Linked DNA regions of Homo sapiens: region 2 is linked to region 1. Evidence: promoter capture Hi-C in human tissues and cell types (Jung and others, 2019). All regions are on one chromosome and are shown on one strand. The core of a region is centred on a gene start or on the middle of the fragment in contact, and the rest is flanking DNA. Distances in the headings are between cores, read along the strand shown. Region 1 holds the start of PEX11A (peroxisomal biogenesis factor 11 alpha). Region 2 overlaps ARPIN-AP3S2 (ARPIN-AP3S2 readthrough).

Region 1 (3,248 bases), core at 321-2,820:
AAGCCTAGTTTCCCTCTTCTGGAGTCTAGACCATGTTCAGGGTACCAATACCCCTGGAATTTACTGCCCAAATGACACCATGGCCTGCATGAGCCCTTCTCAGCTTTCACCTGAGGGCAGACCCAGCTGCTAATGTGAGCACTCCTCGATCTGAAAAGGTGGCAAAGGCATGGCTGCTTGCAGAGGTACGGGCAGACGTTGGATGTGGCTTGGAGTATCAGGATGGTATACAAGGCTCCTGGCAGGGAATGCAGGTGGGCACCAGAAACCAGAAAAGAAAGGGAAGTGGGAAAAGACTGGGAGCCATTTCTCCCCACACTGCCATATTCCAGCTGTGTTTCCAGGTATTCTAAGGAGTCTAGGGATTCTGAAGATGAACCTGGCCTTCTACATCATTATGAGGGTCTATTTGTCAATGTAGGAAAACAGACTATATTTTACTTTACAATTTGTTGCTTGATTTATAACTAAAATATTTAAACATACGGTGTGCTGGACTCCATTTGTACTCTTACCCAGGGCCTGCAAATGTTAGGAGCTGGCCTGACCAAGGGAATAAAGATTACGAAAATGTTCACCTTATTTTATTTTATTTTATTTTTTTGAGACAGCGTCTCGCTCTGTCGCCCAGGCTGGAAAGCAGTGGCACAATCTCGGCTCACTGCCACCTCCGCCTCCTGGGTTCCAGCGATTCTCCTGCCTCAGCCTCCCGAGTAGCTGGGATTACAGGCGCCCACCACCACGCCCGGCTACTTTTTTTGTATTTTTAGTAGAGACGGGGTTTCACCCTGTTGGCCAGGCTGGTCTCCAACTCCTGATCGCAGGTGATCCGCCCACCTCGGCTCCCAAAGTGTTGGGATTACAGGCGTAAGCCACAGCACCGGCCGACCTTATTTTGTGGTTATAGAGGGTACATTTTATAAAATTACTGCCACGGAGTGGGTAAGGCTCCTTTTCTTCAAGCCGCACAGAACGAATGTTCAGCGGTGCAATTTCATTGCAATCTATTTTTGCTTCACTTTGCTCATAATGACTCTTTTAGGATTTCCTCAGGTAACAATCTTCTTTCAATGTTCAATAATCCAAGCAGAACATTTTCTCACTTCATCCGCCTCCCATGCTAGGTTCACACTGTGAAATTGGCTTATCTCTGACCTAACCACTTCCTTCACCAGACATAGAGCTGGTGTAGCTCAAGGGAAAGAGGCACGGCGCTGGGAAATGATTAGGCCCCACCGTCCCAAGCAAGAGCTCAGGGGAGTTCTGAGGCTGGAGAGACCATTCGGGATATCACCCCGGGTTCCTGAGAACCTGAGATCTGCGGGGAGGCGTCAGGCATCCGGAAACGCCCGAGTCTGGGGAGACGGACCCCCTCAGACTTTCCTCTAGGAGACTCTACAGGTAAAGGGGAGTCCTGGGACTCGAGGGGAGCCCCGGCATCCAAAGGTAAGATCAGTTTTGCTCACCTGGCCGGGCGGCGTTGCGTCGCCTTGGTAACCACAACTTCCGGCTTGAACCGGAAGTCCGCGAAGTTGCTCTACAGAAAGTGTGCCCGCCCCCTCTGGGGCGGAGAGACTCAGCCCCTCCCCCTCAGCGGATAACCTGGGACTGACCGTTCCCTGGGGATCCGACGGGCCCCAGAGGACCCACGCCTGAGCCCCGTGCGACTCGTGGCCTTTGGGCTAGAAGCCATGGACGCCTTCACCCGCTTCACCAACCAGACCCAGGGCCGGGACCGACTCTTCAGGTGAGTCAGGTGCCAGCGGCCTCCGCCCCTTTCTCGCCCTAACTCGGCTCCCGTGCCTATTCCCCTGCACCCGGGAAAAAGGAGGTGATAGCCTAGTAGATGGAAGCAGGAAGGACGTTGCCAGCTCCTACGGAGGGAGTTTAGTATCCGAGCCCCTCCTTACCCTAAATTCAACGTGAGTGGGCCCAACGCACCCGCGTCCCGTCCTAGCCCCGTGCACGAAAGCCCCAGTGCCTGGCACCCTAGCCGCCTCGAGACCGCCGACGACGGGACACCGGCTGACAGATCCTCCTCCCCTCCTAACTTTGCTCTCCGGGCACAGAAAGATTGGTTCTCTCCACTCAACATTCTTCCGAGGGATCTCCTTTAAAGAGAAACTTTGGATTAGTATTTGTGGCTAGGGAAGCAAACCACTTGGTGTGACTTCAAATATCTCTCTTTTTTTTTTCTTTTGAGACGGAGTCTCGCTCTGTCGCCCAGGCAGTGGCGCGGTCTCGGCCCACTGCAACCTCTGCCTCCCGGGTTCAAGCGATTCTCCTGCCTCAGCCTCCTGAGTAGCTGGGATTACAGGCGTGCACTACCACGCCCGGCTACTTTTTGTATTTTTAGTAGAGACGGGGGTTTCGCCATGTTGGCCAGGCTGGTCTCGAACTCCTGACCTCAGGTGATCTGTCCACCTCGGCTTCCCAAAGTGCTGGGATTACAGGTGCGAGCCACCGCGCCCGGTCTCAAATACCTCTTGAAATGTTTGAGGAGAGACAGAAGTTCTCTTCCATTATTACCCAGGCTGTATCATTGAGATACTGCATGTGGAATAGTTTTGTAAATTGTAAAACAAAATATAGCGGGGATGAGACCACACCAACTGGATTGGGGGGAAATACAGTGGGGAGAAGCTCAGAAAGAACTAACTGCACCTCTAAGGTTCATGCTGTGCTACTGAAAATATTAAACAGAGATTGTGTCTCTTTTTCTTTTGGTTCCATAAGAAACGAAAAGAACTGAGAGATTGTATCTTTAATACGAATACAGTACTAGTTCATGATGTTTTAGAGATTTGGTTGATTCTTGCTTAATGAAAAAATATTTACAGTTGCAGTTTTATTTAACAGCTCTGCATTCTCTTCTGGGTGTGCAAGTGCTGATACAAACAGATCAATTAGAATGGCCCCAATAATGAGGCTTTTGGAAGCCATCTTTATGACAGCTATTGTTCCCAGTGTTTTGCAACTATGAACTTATATAACCCTCATCACAACCCTATGAGGTAGATACTCTAAATATTTTACCCACTTCAGATGGAGAAACTGAAGCAGAAAGAGGTTAATAGGTACTACAATGGCAGAACTGAGGGATTCACATCCACGCAAATGACTCCAGTGCCCACTTAACTACCAAGCTATACTGGCTTTCTCATTAGTTTGATAGGTTTTTTAAATGGTTACTTTATATACAAGCTTCATTAAATAGAAATTTCATTAAATAGAAACCTGTAATTCCA
Region 2 (3,292 bases), core at 163-2,662, 180 kb before region 1:
AGAAATAAGACATTTATTTTAAATAATAATAAGACCCATTTATTAATTAGAAATAAAATAAGACCCATTTATGTCTTATTGCTAAATGGGTGCTAAACAAAAACACTCACAGCCTTGTTGCTCACACAAAATGAACAAAATGGTCTCTTAGAAATAAAAAATGAGAGGAAATGGAAACAAACAAAAACCCACTTCAACTGAAGTATTAGAAAATCAAGTTAATCAATTGTCTCAGAATGGGCAGAGATGGAAAATGGGAGAGAAAAGATGAGAAAATAAGACAGAGGCCGGGCACAGTGGCTCACGTCTGTAACCCCAGCACTTTGGTAGGCCAAGACAGGGGGATCACTTAAGGTCAGGAATTGGATATCAGCCTGGCCAACATGGTGAAACCTCGTCTCTACTAAAAATACAAAAATTAGCCAGGCGTGGTGGTGCATGCCTGTAATCCCAGCTACTCAGGAGGCTGAGGCAGGAGAATTGCTTGAACCCAGGAGGCAGAGGCTGCAGTGAGCCAAGATCGTGGCACTGCACTTCAGCGTGGACAACAGAGCGAGAGTCTGTCTCAAAAAAAAAAAAAAAAGAAGACAGACAGAGGTCCAATACTTGAATATAAGCAGCTCCAAAAAGATTGATTAGGAATGTGGAAAGGAGGGAATTCTCAACAAAATAATTCGATAAAATTTCCCAGAACTGAAGGACTTGAACTGCAGGATTATAAGGGCTTACCAAGTACCCAGCATAGTGATTGAGAAATAGACCCATTTAACTATGTGTCCTTATAGTGAAATATTCTGGCACTGTTAAAAATGTAAAGATTTATGAATGGCACTAATATGAAATTATTGTATGTGGTTTTTGGCATACATGTATATATCTGTTAGATATGTTATCTGGGAGTAGAATTCCTAGATCATAGAGCATGCATACATAATGTCATAGTTTTCCAAAATGGTTGGTATCTGGCAAAATACAGTGCACTGGTTACCAGTCTCAAGAAAGGAATCTAAATGCTCTTGCCCATTGCATCTTGGTATCAGAGTCGGCAAGGAAAAAGTGCAAACACTGGATAAAGCTTTACTTACATAGAGAAGAGACAGAGCAGGATCAGCTCCAATAGTGTGCGTTGGTTCCTCATGGCAAGTGGGTCTGTCTCCCCAGCAGCCGCTGCAGGGTGGTTTGCCTATGAGCACCCATCTTGTGCTACAGTGGAACGGTGTGCCTGGTCTCTGTCACTTGCTGGCCTCAAGTAAGACCCATTTTCATGCAGTGCCGAACAATTCATGACACTGCTGACAATGAGATTGTTTAAATGAGGTCATTGTCTGAGAGAAATTAAACAGTTATAGATAGATACCTAGGTTGTAGTTACATGGTGTGTTCATTCTGAAAATTCATTAAACTGTGCCCTTGTCATTTGTACACTTTTCTGTTATGTTTTATTAAAAGTTAAAAGGTTCTATAGAGAAGTAAGCTCAGGGCTTTTAAAAAAAAATTTTAAGTTGTAAACACGTCAATTAAATTTATTCATAGGAAGGTATTTTGTAGGCTAAATAACTGACCAAAAAAATTAAAAAGGGAAGATGTTTTGAAGTTAATTTTGGCTGAAATTAAAACACAGCTATGTTAACCCTGTAATAATGAAAAATTTTTTGTACATGTATTCATTGAGGACATAGTATTGTAAGTAGTTGGTTTTTTTAATTTGTTATTCTTTTATGTAATTTTTTTTCTTTTTTCTTTTTTTTTTTTTGAGAGACTCTCACTCTGTCACTCAGGCTGGAGTGCAGTGGTGCGATCTCTGCTTATGGCAACCTCCACCTCAAATGATTCTCATTCAAGCTATTCTCGTGCCTCAGCCTCCCAAGTAGCTGGGACTATAACAGGCTCGTGTCGCCACACCCAGATAATTTTTGTATTTTTAGTAGAGATGGGTTTTCGTCTTGTTAGCAAGGCTGGTCGTGAGCTCTTGGCCTCAAGTGATCCTCCTGCCTTGGGCTCTCAAAGTGCTGAGATTGTAAGTATGAGCCACCATGCCCTACCATAAATTAGCATCTTATAAAGGGGGAAAGAGCCACATGTGTCTGCTGGTTGTGTTGCTATGCTGAAAACAAGGTTTTCCTGTCCTAGATTATTCCCTCTAAATCGAGATAAGTAGGGTGATCAGCTAATGCTGGAGACAAAAGGTAGGTGTTTTAATTTTTGAGATTTATCATAAAGTAAATAGTATTGTGACAGCCCCTTTTACTTTCAGATGTGACATTGATAAAGCTGTGAATGTGTTCCTATTTCTCTTCTTTATCTATTTCTCCTTGTTTTCTAGGTTTTTGTGGAAACTCTGGATAAGTGTTTCGAAAATGTGTGTGAATTGGATTTGATCTTCCATATGGATAAGGTATATTCTCTTGCAGTTCTCTTCCAAACTAGGGTTACTAGAAAACCAAGAGCCTTGGGCATCTGTAGCCACCTCTACATCTTCATATTGTTTCTTGTTTTTTTTTACTCTTAAGATAGTCCTAGAACATGTTTTATTTAATAGATTTAATAGTTTGGGTTTTGTTTTGTTTTTGCTAAGATCTACTAACAGTTTTAACGTGCATAAGATTATTACTAGGCCTATATCGTGGTTCATCTGTTCACAGACTGATTTCTTGATATAGGAGAATGATGTCACTGGCTACTTGGCCAAAGGTGAGATAAATAGTTTTATGCTGATTATAAAATTAGTTTCCTAGTCATAGGCCAGTGACAATGAAACTTTGGAATAATCATGACGCAGGGGCTTTGACTTAGATAGTAAAATTTATATCTTTCCTAAAGAGTAATATAGTGACTAAGAGATCTGTAATGTAATTCAAGGTCAGGTGATATTCTATAGGAAGGTAGACTATCAGAGGCAGAATTAAAATGGCCCCAAGTAGGTGTTCTCAGATTTGTTTTGCTAGGATAACTGTGACATGGCCTATGTCCTCATATGCCAAATTAAACTTGGGCAATAGCCAGCAAGGGAATAGGAATTGCCATGTTTATTTTATTCAACTTACCACATGCTGTCCCCTGTGCAGTTTACTGGTGCGTCTTTGGTTTGCTTGGTCCTGGTTTTTCTTCAACTGATTGTTGTCATTATGATCCCTGGCCCTTGGAGAGAGATGATTTTTTAGGAGACTGCTGCTCATTGCTAAGCCATGATCCTTTATTAACCTTTTCATCATGATGAAGTAGGAGTTTTTAGATCCATCGTTGCTAGCATTGCTGTCTAAAGGACTTTCTTGTTGTTTTTCAATAGGGTCTT

What was found. The method cuts DNA at HindIII sites, captures the fragments that hold promoters and counts their contacts. A contact is called where the count stands out against the background at its distance.
Region 2: a contact is called between a fragment that was not itself captured here and the fragment with the promoter of PEX11A in region 1, in 2 of the 25 tissues and cell types used here (IMR-90 fibroblasts and mesenchymal stem cells).

What each region holds. Positions count from the first base shown.
Region 1 is chr15:89,689,076-89,692,323 of GRCh38, reverse strand. PEX11A (peroxisomal biogenesis factor 11 alpha) reads left to right here and starts at 1,570. Exons shown (of 3, transcript NM_003847.3): 1 at 1,570-1,747. The coding sequence starts at 1,692. WDR93 (WD repeat domain 93) reads right to left here and starts at 1,513. Exons shown (of 17, transcript NM_020212.2): 1 at 1,467-1,513. RefSeq lists an enhancer at 1,646-1,735. The HindIII fragment of the contact is 14,807 bases long and covers 1-3,248 here.
Region 2 is chr15:89,870,578-89,873,869 of GRCh38, reverse strand. It overlaps ARPIN-AP3S2 (ARPIN-AP3S2 readthrough), which reads left to right. Exons shown (of 10, transcript NM_001199058.2): 8 at 2,324-2,395. AP3S2 (adaptor related protein complex 3 subunit sigma 2) reads left to right here. Exons shown (of 6, transcript NM_005829.5): 4 at 2,324-2,395. Among named protein-coding and RNA genes, the nearest start is that of MIR5009, 12 kb to the left of the region's middle. The HindIII fragment of the contact is 7,631 bases long and covers 1-3,292 here.